Regions from separate parts of the Homo sapiens genome. Here all the other regions are linked to region 1. The links are contacts of gene promoters, found by promoter capture Hi-C in human tissues and cell types (Jung and others, 2019). All regions are on one chromosome and are shown on one strand. Each heading gives the region's core, a stretch centred on a gene start or on the middle of the fragment in contact. The rest is flanking DNA. Distances are from core to core; before and after follow the strand shown. Region 1 holds the start of NTN1 (netrin 1). Region 2 overlaps NTN1 (netrin 1). Region 3 overlaps PIK3R5 (phosphoinositide-3-kinase regulatory subunit 5).

Region 1 (4,113 bases), core at 776-3,275:
AGCCCTCCCGGGTCCCGGGCATCGGCGAACGCGCCTCCCGCCGTTCCCTCGACCCGCGCTCCTATGAACTCGCCGCTGCGAGGCCCAGCAGCTCCCGCCCGCGGCCCCACCCGCCGCCGGCTCCGCCGCCGCACCCCACTCACCCACGCACTCGTTGGCTTCGCGGGCTGTGGCGCGCTGCCAGGGCCGGTCGTAGTGGAAGGGCTTGCAGCGGTCGCACTCCGGGCCGGCCGTGTTGTGCCTGCAGTCGCACACCAGGCTGTCGTCGCGGTCGCGCACGCAGCGGGCCGCGTGGCCGTTGCACTTGCACCGGCCGCCCACCTGCAGGTCGGACACCGCGTAGAAGTACGAGTCGCGCGCCAGCTCCGAGTCGTCCTCGTTCTCGTCGCCGAACGTGTGCAGGCGGCTGAAGGCCACGCGGATGTCTGTGGCCGTGACCCAGTCCTGCAGCACGGGCGAGTTGTCGAAGTCGTGCGCCGAGGGCCGCCCGTCCAGCGTGCTGAAGGCGATGAGGCCGCCCGAGAGCGGGCGCATGTCGGTGTGCGAGTCGGTGCACACGGCCTCCTGCTCGTTCTGCTTGGTGATGGGCGCGCGGTGCGGCCGGTTGTACATCTTGCGGCACTGCGTGGAGTAGAACTGGAAGGGCACCCACGTGCGCCCGTAGTCCATGGACTTGTAGATGGCCATGGACTCGGGCCGCGGCGAGCAGAACTGCAGGCTCACGTAGGTCACTTCGAACTTCTTGCCGAGGGACAGTGTGAGCGTGACGTTGTGCGGGAACTGCAGGTAGTTCTCGGACTGCCAGCACGTCAGGTTGTGCGGGTTGTTGAGGTCGGTGAGGAAGGCGGGCGGGTGCGCCTTCTTGGGGTCGGACGCGTTGCAGAGGTGGCACGAGCGCAGCCGCTCCTCGCCGCGCTCGCTCACCACGCAGTAGCGCGCCGGGGGCCGGCCGCAGGTGCTGGACACGCGCACGTCCTTGCCGAAGGCCGCATTGACAAAGTCCGGGATGCAGCGGCGCGGGTGGCCGTTCTCGTCCGAGCAGGGATCGGGCTGCGCCGCCTGGCCCGCGAACATGCTGAGCCCGGGCCCGCCGCGCACCGCGCCCACCAGGCACGCCACCGCCGCCAGCGCCGCCAGCGCCTCCCACACTGCGCGCATCATGCTGCGTCCAGCTTGCCCCGGCCCTGCCGCGCCGAGGATCTGTCCGCCTGCCGCAGAAGGCGCCTGCGGAGAGAAGGGAGCTGCGCTCAGCCAGCCCGCCCCGCGCCCTCCAGCTCTCGGCGGGGTGGCGAGCGGAGATGCGGGAGAACGCCCGGCTTCCTGGGCACCCACCCCGCAGCCGACTGCCCGCCTCTCTCCCCCAAAGTCCCGCGGGCGGCGAAGCCGGGGCCCTCCAAGTCCGCACCGCTCGCGCCCCTTCTTCCCCGCCCGGCGGGAGAACGCTCTGCTTCCCCGCCACCGCCGCCCCCACGCCGCCCGAGGGGCATGCCTGAGCCGGTCTCCCCGTCCGCGACCAGCCCCCCTCGCACCCCAAGTTTCGGGCGCAGGAGAGCTGGGGGACCCCGACTCTGCACGGCCCGCGCCCCTTCGTCTCGCAGCCCGGGGTCCCTCTCAGATGCCCCCCGATCGCGTCCCCGCCGGAAAGTCCGCGTTCGGGACTTTACCTCTGGAGGGGGCAAAAGAGAAAGAAAAGTTTGCCTGGCCCCTCCGGGGAGCCCGCGCGCCGGTCGCCGGAGAGCCTCTCGCTCGCTGCTAGCAGGCGCGTCCCGCCTCAGCGCGGGCTTGCCAGCTCCATGCCCGGCGCGGCCGCCGCTGCCCCAGCCCCAGCCCCGGTCCCGGCCCCGCCGCCGCCTCTCTCGCCCGAGTGACTACGCGGCCGCCCGGCTCCCGCCGCTCCCGCCGAGCTCGGAGTGCTGCCCTGCCCGCGCCCGGGGCGCACACACACTCACGCTGGCCGGCGCGCACTCACACACACGCGCGCTCGCCCCCGAAGGCTCCGCCGCCGCCGCCACTCGCGCTGGGAGTGAGGGGCGGAGGGGAGCGCGGGGGCGGGGGGCGGGGCCGCCGGGCGGGGCGCCGGCCAATAACGTCCGCGAGCTGCCGCCAGCTCCGAGCAAAGTTTTCACCCCGGGAAAGAAGAAAGTTAAAGGGAACCGGCCCGGACGCCCGAGAGGGAGAGCACAGGCGGGTGGGAACCCGGGAGCCCGAGAAAGAACAGCAGAGACAAAGAGAAAGCGAGGAGAGCACCCGGGGAAACCCCGGAGAGGGGGCTGGGCCGGGCCAGGCGCGCACCCCGTGGGGGAGGAGGGGCCGCCGGGGACTGTCAGCCTCGCCCGCGCCCCGCGCCGCCCGGAGAGCCTCACGCCCGGGGGAGCGCGCGGGCGGGGGAAGGGGGCCACTTTCTCCCTCCCGGTCCCAGCCAAACACATCTGTGTTTGTTTTCTTTGCTGCGCGGAGGTCGGGCCTTCCTCTAACCCAGCCTGATGGCCCCCGGTGGCACCGCGCACAGGGCTGTGCCCCTGTGGGCACGCAGCCCGGGAGCGTGAGGAAGAGGAGGAGGATGTGACCTCTGCCTGCTCTCCATTTTTGCCCGAAGCCCCCGGGGTCCGGCGAGGAGGGGCTGCTCGCCCGCACTCCCACGGATATCACCGTGCGTGAGCCTGTCTGTCGGGAACGCGGCTTCGTTCTAGCCAAGGGAGCAGTGGTGGGCAGGAGGCTGAAGGGGTAGGAAGCTGGCAGCACCTGGACGCTGGCCACCGCCCCTCCAAGACGGGCCTGCCTGGTCTCAGGCATGGGGACAGCCCAGCCCTCCCCAGATCCCCTGAGGCAGGCGTATCGGTACTTCCTCAACCGCATTTTTAAGGGTGCAAAGCCCTGTAATAGCTCATGGGACCTCCACAGCAGCTTTGCTGTTGTATTAACTCCATTTTGCAGATGAGGAAACTGAGGGTCCCGGGAGCTGAAGAAACTCGCACAAGATCAACCCCCAAGTAAACATCAAAAACAGGAAGAGAAGCCTGGGCTCCTTCCACTGCAGGGCATTCGTCAAATGCATAACCTTGCCGAATGATGGTGTCATGGGGCATCTGCGGGGCCACCCAGCCCCTCCTTGCCTCATTCTCCATCGCCCCAATAAAAAGACTGAGGACAGTGACAGCATCCTTTGGTCATCTTGCAACAGCAGCCAGAGAGCTCTGGGAAAGGAATACACTGGGCCGAGAGTTTGGAACGGAATCTCTGCTCGTTTATTTGTTACTTGTAGATGTGTGGTCCAGTAATAGACCCGGATGAAAAGCCCCAGGTCCTGGTTCCGGCCCAAGGGCTGCCTTGCTGCATTAGCTCCATTAAGTGCCTCAGTTTGTCTTATTGGCATTTTCATAAACCCTGAGAATCTAAGAAGGGGCCTCGGGGCTCGTCTGGCCCAGCTCCGTCTCCTTGGAAGAAGGCCTTCCCCAGCCTCCCAGAGAGACGGCCACCCAAGCCAGCTCTTCCAGGGATGGGAGCTCACCACAGCTCAAGAAAATAAATCCATTCCATTGCAGGACAGCCTGGATTCATCTTCTTACCCCGGGGTAGCAATTTAGCTGTGCCTTCTTGTGCCGTTTACCACACTCTGCACTGTTTATTTATGCCTTACCTCACCTTGTGGCAGAAAGGATTTCAGGTAACTTACAAGGGTACATAAAATATGACACAATAACAAATTAAAAGTGAGGTCAAAGGAAATAAATGAAATGGTTAACCATGGTGACCTGTGAAATCGCAATGGTATACTGAAAGGCAGCATAGCTCTTAGGAGGAAACGCTTCGGAGCCAGGGTACCTGGGTTCAAATTCTGCCTCTGCTGTGTGACTATGGAAAGTCTATGCCTTGGTTTCCTCCATCTGTACAAGGGAGATAATACTTTCTACCCCACTGGGTTGTGAGCATCACGTGAGTTGACACATTTGAATATTATAGCTGATGGGATATAGACATACATATTGCAGGTCTGTAACACATATAAATAGGCTTTCTCATGTATGCAAATGTAAATATGCATAAAACCAGGCACATAGTACATGCATATAGAAATGTTAGCTGTTAGTATGAGGTCGCTTGATCTATACAGAA
Region 2 (4,113 bases), core at 644-3,143, 110 kb before region 1:
GTTGCCCAGGCTGGAGTGCAGTGGTGCAATCTTGGCTCACTGCAGCCTCTGCCTCCCGGGTTCAAGCAATTCTCCTCCCTCAGCCTCCTGAGTAGCTAGGATTACAGGCGCATGCCACTATGCCTGGCTAATTTTTGTATTTGTTTTAGTAGAGACGGGGTTTCACCATGTTGGCCAGGCTGGTCTAGAACTCCTGACCTCAGGTGATCCACCTGCCTTGGCCTCCCAAAATGCTGGGATTACAGGCGTGAGCCACCACACTCAGCCACACTATACTCTTTTCTTAACAGTGTTATTATCGTCTACTCTGAACCACTTCAGAATAAAGTAAAGCTAGGCTCCGTTTGGTTTGGTTTTGTAAAGACTGAGGTGTGCAGGGCAGCATTTGCTCTGCTGCCCCTAGCTGCTGGCCTGTTGCTGGAGCATTTCCTGCCCACTCTTGTCAAGCTGTGACTCAGTTTCCCCTGAGTGGGGACTGACTCTAGGAAGATTCCAGAAAGCAGCCTGAGTCATCGCACCAGGGGGACACGAGGAAATGGGCTTAGAGCTTCCCAGGCGGGAGTGAGGAGGATGGGTGTCGAGTTTGAGTAGGCACGTGCACACATGTATGAGTGAGCGTGCGCACACAGACACGTTTGGGGTGGCAGTGTTCATGCTGCCCTCTGAGTATGGGCTGTGCTCAGTCGACATGTGTGAAGAGGAGCTCAGGGAGTGAATGGTGGACTCAGGGCTAGAACCCTGGTCTCCTAAATGCCCCTTCCAATGCCCTGGAATGCTGGAAGCCAGAACAGATTGCCAGGAAAGGGCTCTAAGGACAAGTGCCCCACCAGGCCTACTCCAGGGAGCCCTAGAACCTCAACCTGGAGATGAGACAACAGCTTAGAAGAAGTAAGAGTCCAGTCTCTACAGAAAAAGCAGAGGCTCCACACACCAGCTGAACCCAACAGTGCTGGGCCATCGTGACAATTCAAGGGGAAGCCAATGGGCTCCAAGAAGCGTGGATCTCAGCCAATCCTCTGCATTCAGAACTTAGGAGAGTCTCATGGTCAAGAGGACTAAGTGGTTGACCCCGACAGTGGCGAATGAACTATTGCTGGGAACAGGAGACAACCCGAGAATAGGGGGAAGGACGTCCAAAGGCTCAGAGGCCAGAGGAAGCCGTGCATGAGAACAACGTTAGTGTGGTCTGGTTGGCAGGATGGCTGCAGGGGAAGCAAGAGCCAGACACAGGTTCAGGACTGTGCAAAGAGGTGTTGGGTCTGGGGGACACATTCAGACCCAGGTGGCAGCTGCTCTCAGACACTTTCCAGCAGAACAGTGACCCTCCTGTAGCCAGTAAAGGGCAGCCCAGACAGGAGATGGGAAGAACTGGCAAGGTGAGCAAAGACAAAGGAATGGGGTAGAGAAGGGAGGATGGGCCGGGAGCATCAGGGGCTGGGGGACAATGTGCCTTACCGGGCCCTCGGTGTGGATGGGGACACCCGTGTCCAGGTACAGCACTCGGAGAATTTGGTCTGGGTATGGGGGTTGGAGGTGTCAGCTGCATGACAATGGGGGTGTCCATTCAGGAGGCAGCACCCCCTGGGTCTGGAACTCAGGGACAGGCCTCCCAAACAAGACTATTGAGTTCTGGAATAAGCTTTCTCACCTTTCTCAGGACCCAGAACCAAAAGCAGGGCAGGAGGAAGACGCTTTATTGAGAAGTCCTGGTAGGTTCATTTCCAGTCTGCAAATACCTAGAAAACAACAGCCATGGAAAGACCCCAGGCCTGAGGCTTAAACTCAGCGGGCTCTGTGATGCACTGACTGTCTCTGCATGTTCACTTCGCACCTAGAAGGGTCCCACAGGGCAATGAGCAGCCAGCATCTGGGCCCTGAACATTTGGAACCCCTGAAAGCTCAGGGCCGCCCAGAGCAGAAAGACTGTCTATTCTCATGGTTCTCTGCCCCGGCTGCATGTTAGACTTACTTGGAAAGCTTTTTAAAAAGTGTGGTCCCCACCCCAGAGACTCTGATTAATTAGTGTGGAGAGAGGCCCTGACGTGAGTAGTTCTGTTAAAGTTCCAGGTGATTCTAATATACAAGGACCATGCTCCCAATCTAGTCAATCCCTGATTTTCCAGTGAGGTCCAGAGAGAGGCAGCTGCAACCCCAGCCGGGCACAGAAACCGGAGGGAGTGCTCTGGGGGGAGAGAGGGTGAGCACCCAGTTATCACTAAGAGGGGTTGGCAAGAAATCAGTCATCTGGGGGAAAGAGGACAGCTGTTATTGGCCCCAGGAACAAAGGGGTCCTGGCAAACATATTCTAAGGGAATCCTGTTTATGAGATGAGTGGGGCTTTTAAACATTCAATGAGGGCCAGGTGTGGTGGCTCATGCCTGTAATCCCAGCACTTTGGGAGGCTGAGGCGGGCAGATCACAAGGTCAGGAGTTCAAGACCAGCCGGCCAACATGGTGAAACCTCGTCTCTACTAAAAATACAAAAAATTAGCTGTGCATAGTGGCAGGTGCCTGTAATCCCAGCTACTTGGGAGGCTGAGGCAGGAGAATTGCTTGAACTCGGGAGGCAGAGGTTGCAGTGAGCTGAGATCACATCACTGCACTTCAGCCCGGGAGACAGAGTGAGACTCTGTCTCAAAAAAAAAAAAAAAAAAAAAAAGGCTAGGCCCAGTGGCTCATGCCTGTAATCTCAGCACTTTGGGAGGCCAAGGCAGGCAAATCACAAGGTTAGGAAATCAAGACCATCCTGGCCAACATGGTGAAACCCTGTCTCTACTAAAATACAAAAAAAAAAAAAAAAAAAATTAGCTGGGCATGGTGGTGCGCACCTGTAATCTCAGCTACTCAAGAGGCTGAGGCAGGAGAATCGCTTGAACCCGGGAGGTGGAGGTTGCAGTGAGCCGAGATTGTGCCACTACACTCCAGCCTGGCGACAGAGCAAGACTCTGTCTCAAAAAAAAAAAAAAAAAAAATTCAATGAGAAGGTCCCTGCACAGAATGGAAGACCACGGCCAACTTGCTTTCCAGCCAGGACAAGAATTAAGCATGCGCCCTGGCTCCCAGCCCTGCATGGTCGTTACAGGTGTAGACACCACCTGCTGAGTAAACCTAAGGCCCCAGCTCAAACACAGCAAGTCGCCTGGGAGCAAGGAGGAGAGATGGCCCTGCTCCTGCTGGGCTGCCCAGATCCTTCCTCGGCAAGCCCTTAGGCGAGCACCTGACCTCCTGGTCTTGGCACAACAGGTCCTGTGAGTGAGAACCACAGCCAAACTACCTCTCCGGAAGCCTGGAGCTGCTTTCCCTGAGGCCTCCAGTAGATTCTTAACAGACCAAGGCGGTGGTGGCATCCGTCAGACTCCCCCAGGAGCAGCTGGCAACATGCAGTGTCAGAGATCCCTGACAGGGAAAGGAGAAGGACTAGATAGTTGCCCAGGCTTAGAAGCTGGCAGGGCTCTCGGTGGCTCGCACTGGGTGAAGGTGTGGTCAGCCGTTAAGGTGGAGGGGAGGAGACCTCATCCCAGGTTGTGAGCGTCTACAGTCCGTGGAAGGTTTTGGCCAGAATGCTTAACCAACAGCATTTCAGATATTCCTGGAGTCAGGCTGGGCCACACTCAGCTCATTTTGACCCTCAGTTAAAGGGAATTTGGTATTATCAGTGTGGACGTGTCATTCTTTTTCTTTTTTGAAACAGAGTTTCTCTCTTGTTGCCCAGGCTAGAGTGCAATGGTGCAATCTGGGCTCACCACAATCTCCACCTCCTGGGTTCAAGTGAATCTCCTGCCTCAGCCTCCTGAGTAACTGGGATTACAGGCATGTGTCACTGCACCTGGCTAATTTTGTGTTTTTAGTTGAGACAGGGTTTCTCCATGTTGGTCAGGCTGGTCTTGAACTCCCAACCTCAGGTGATCCGCCTGCCTCAGCCCCCCAAAGTGGTGGGGTTACAGGCGTGAGCCACTGCGCCTGGCCGGACGTGTCATTCTTTTCCTTGCTGATTTATTAAACATCCAGGACAGCCTCATGCCAGACACAGTGCTAGGATTAAAGGGCACAAAGATGAACAGGGTGTGGCAGCTGCACGTGAAAAGTTCATATTCTAGCAAAGGAGTAGGCATG
Region 3 (4,113 bases), core at 490-2,989, 71 kb after region 1:
CGTGTGGTCTTTAAGTCAGACCATAAACCATATTCTACAAATTCAGGGGAAATCCACCAGCTGTAACTAAATGGCATAGTAACAGAAAAACAAAAACATCATTTCTCTTATTAGGTAACTCAGCATTCACTGAAATATTAGTTGGTCTACTGGTTTCTCTGTTGGATTGGAGAGACCCAAAATAATAGTGGCTTAAACAAGATAGAGGTTTATTTCTGTCTCAGGTAGCAAGCTGGGCATAAGTGATCCAGACTTCACATGACAGCTTTATAGGTTGGGAACCAAGGTTCCTTTTGTGTCATTGCTCTGCCTTCTTCAACATGTAGCTCTCATCTCATGGTCCATAATGGCTGCTCTAGCAATTGCCATCGCATCTGCATTCCAGCTAGCAAGAAGGGGAAAGGGGGAAGGGAAGTGCATGCCTCTTCCTTCTAAAAGCATGACTTGGAAATTGCACTTATCAATGTCTATTCATATTCCAGTAGCCAGAATGTAGTCATATGGTCATACTTAGTTACAAGAGTCTGGGAAACGTGATCTAAAATTCCTAAAAGTTATATCCCCATAGAAGGAAGGAGAATAGATATGGAAGAACAATTTTGAGTCTCATCCACATTTGAACTTTGTGAATCTTCACTGTTACATAGATGTTCTTTATCCCTTCTGTTGTGGAGTAAGCTTGCCTCCTAAGCCCTGCTGAAAACTATTAATAAAAAACAGCATGCTACACCAAAAGGTCAAACTAACCCAAATGTCCATTAATGGATAAATGGATAAACAAAATGTGTATATACATTCAATTGAATATTATTGATCCTTAAAAAGGAATGAGGTTCAAACACATGCTACGATATGCATGAACCTTGAAGACATTATGCTAAGTGAAGTAAGCCAGACACAAAAGGATAAATACTGTGTGATTCCACCCAAATGAGGTAGCTAGAGTAAACTCATAGAAACAGAAAGTAGATTAGAGGTTACCAGAGGCTGGGGGGAGAAGTGGCGGGGAGTTAGTGTTTATTGGGTATGGAGTTTCAGTTTAGGAAGACGAAAAAGTTCTGTGAATGGATGGTGGGGATGGTTGCACAACATTGTGAATGTACTTAATGTCACTGAACTGTATACTTAGAACTGTACGCACAAAACTGTACACACACAACCTACAGAATGGGAGAAAATATTTGCAGACTATGCATCTGTCAAAGGTCTAATATCCAGAGTCTATAAGGAACTTAAACAAATCAACAAGCCAAAACCAAATAACCCCATTTAAAAACAGGCAAAGGACATGAACAGACACTTCTCAAAAGAAGACGTACAAATGGTCAACACACATATCAAAGATAATGCTCATTATCACTGATTATGAGGGAAATGCAAATCAAAACCTTAACAAGATACCATCTCGCACCAGTCAGAATGGCCACTATTGAAAAGCCAAAAAACAACAGATGCTGGCGAGGCTGTGGAGAGAAGGGAACACTTACACATTGTTGGTGGGAGCGTAAATTAGTTCAACCACTATAGAAAGCAGTTTGGAGATTTCTCAAAGAACTTAAAACAGAGCCACCATTTGACCCAGTGATCTCATTACTGGGTATATTCCCAAAGGAAAATAGCTCATTATACCAACAAGACACATGTACTCACATGTGTTCATCACCCCACTATTCACAATAGCAAAGACATGGAATCAACCTAGGTGCCCATTGATGGTAGATTGGATAAAGAAAATGTTCTACATATAAACCATGAAATACTATGCAGCCGTAAAAAAGAATGAAGTCATGTCCTTTGCAGCAACATGGATGGAGCTGGAGGCCATAATCCTAAGCAAATTAATGTAGGAATGGAAAACCAAATACCATATGTTCTCTCTTACAAGTAGGAGCTAAACACTGAGCACAAGTAGACATAAACATGGGAGCAATAGACATTGTGGACTCTCAGTGGGGAGAGAGGGAAGGGTGAGGATTGAAAAACCTCCTATTGAGTACTGTGCTCACTACCTGGATGCAATATACCCATATAACAAACCTGCACCTGTATCTAACATAAAAGTTGGAATTAAAAAAATACTTACAATCGTAAATTTTATATTGCATATATTTTACCACAATCATGCTATAAAGGACCAAAGGCAGGGTTCTCTGGCATTTTAGGAGCAATGTCCCTACAGATGAAGCTACTCAACACCCTTTGGGTGAGGTTATGAAGCCAGTAATGAATCCATCTATCTGTGTTATCATTCGTATTTTTTACATCATCATGAAACTATATAGCAAGACTTGCTCAAATTCAGATATGCTGCTATTGTGGCTGTTCTTCTATTACCTCTTTAGTCAGTGAATCCATTGATCCCTATTGGCTGCTGGTGGTTCCTGGATCTTTCCCTTAGCATTCACAAACTGTCTTTTAATAATGTATAGAGAATGTTGCCAGGGGACTGGTGGACTCAGACATGTACTTTAAAAAATTCCACTTAAAAAAATTGTTTTTAAATTTTTATTTTCATAGATTTTTGGGGAACAGGTAGTATTTGGTTACGTGAGTAAGTTCTTTAGAGGTGACTTGTGAGATTTTGGTGCAGTGTACGTTGTACCTAATGTGTAGCCTTTTATCCCTCACCCACTTCCCACCTTTCCCCTGCTAAGTCCCCAAAATCCATTGTATCATTCTTATGCCTTTGCATCCGTATAGCTTAGCTCCCACTTATGAGTCAGAACATATGATGTTCGGTTTTCCATTCCTGAGTTACTTCACTTAGAATAATAGTGTCCAATCCTATTCAGGTTGCTGCAAATGCCATTACAGAATTCTCCCTTTCTTTTTCTGTTCCTCACGATGACGACAACATTTTCTAATCTGTCTCTGTCTTTCTCTGTCTCTGTCTCTTATACATCTTTCATTTTCTCTGATTCTTCAAAGATAATCGGTAGCAGCTCCCTTTCACAACCTCAAGTTTCTTTATGACTCTGAGATGCCTTTATTCTCTTCTGCAATCCTAAACTCATTTTCAGCAGCAAGCCTCCCTATTTGGCATCAGATGTTTCAATATCGGACCCTTTCCCCGCAATCTACCTTTCACCCTGTGGCTGGTACAACCTTCCAAATCCAAAAGCTGATGTGTCATTCACCAGCTCGAAATTTAGCAGTGGCTCCACATGGCGCTTGAGTAAACCCTTAAGCACTTAGCTTGGCAGATAAGGCTGTTCACAGTCTACCATGCCAGCCCATGCAGCATCATCTCCCAGCGTGCCCCATGTCATGCCTACCCTTCAGTAGGGCTGAACTGCCAGCATTTCCCTAAAGGAACCATGCTGTCTCCCGCCTCTTGCCTCAGTTTATTTTCCTACCATGAGATTCATGCCTGAATCTCACCCAGGGCAGCTCCTCCTTCCTGAAATGTTATCTCGGGAGTCACCTTTTTGGAGAAGCTTTGCTAATAGACATTCTCCCTCCTCCAAGTTCCTATGGCACCTGTCCCATATTAGCCTCCACTGGGACACCTAACCCACTGGGTAGTTTCTAGTTTGAGAGTTATTTTGGATGGTGCTTCTCTGAACTTCCTGTTGCATGTCCACTGGGCATGTAGCTAGGAGGCATATACCTGGGGCCTGGAGCATGCTGAAGTTGAGCTTTAGGGTCTGATAGAGCATCTTCCACTGGGTATGTTGTCGTACCAGCGTACATTCCCCGCAGCAGCCGTGAGGGTTTGCGTGGCTTCACATCCTCACAACAGTGCTTTTTTTTGCCTTTTTCATTTTGGCCCTTCTGCTGGGTGTGTAGTGGTATTGCCTTGTGGTGGGAATGTGCACTTCCCTTCTGACTAATGAAGCGGAGCACCTCTCCACATGTTTAGTGGCCATTTGGACACCCTCTTCTGTGAAGCGTCTATTCAAGCCTTTTGTCCAGTTTTCTACTGGGTTGTCTTTTTCATATTTTTCTGTTGCTCCTTCACATTGTGTAGTGACCTCTCAATCCTCCTCCTGGCCACGAGCTCTGTGAGATTTCTGGACCCCCAGTGCCTAGTGAAGTCCCTCAAATAGTAGACCCTCAATACATATTTTCTGCTGACTAAATAAAACATCTGTGATTCATGCTTTCCAGTGG

Evidence for each region. Contacts are between HindIII fragments. The study calls those that stand out against the background at their distance.
Region 2: a fragment that was not itself captured here is called in contact with the fragment with the promoter of NTN1 in region 1 in 2 of the 25 tissues and cell types used here (heart right ventricle and mesendoderm cells).
Region 3: a contact is called between a fragment that was not itself captured here and the fragment with the promoter of NTN1 in region 1, in 2 of the 25 tissues and cell types used here (heart left ventricle and neural progenitor cells).

What each region holds. Positions count from the first base shown.
Region 1 is chr17:9,019,422-9,023,534 of GRCh38, reverse strand. NTN1 (netrin 1) reads right to left here and starts at 2,025. Exons shown (of 7, transcript NM_004822.3): 1 at 1,950-2,025; 2 at 144-1,224. The coding sequence starts at 1,161. RefSeq lists silencers at 1,774-2,563, 2,614-2,663 and an enhancer at 2,084-2,627. The HindIII fragment of the contact is 11,312 bases long and covers 1-4,113 here.
Region 2 is chr17:9,132,446-9,136,558 of GRCh38, reverse strand. The region is part of intron 2 of NTN1 (netrin 1); the gene reads right to left. Among named protein-coding and RNA genes, the nearest start is that of NTN1, 110 kb to the right of the region's middle. The HindIII fragment of the contact is 5,202 bases long and covers 1-4,113 here.
Region 3 is chr17:8,948,297-8,952,409 of GRCh38, reverse strand. All of the region lies in intron 1 of PIK3R5 (phosphoinositide-3-kinase regulatory subunit 5), which reads left to right. Among named protein-coding and RNA genes, the nearest start is that of PIK3R5, 15 kb to the left of the region's middle. The HindIII fragment of the contact is 5,738 bases long and covers 1-4,113 here.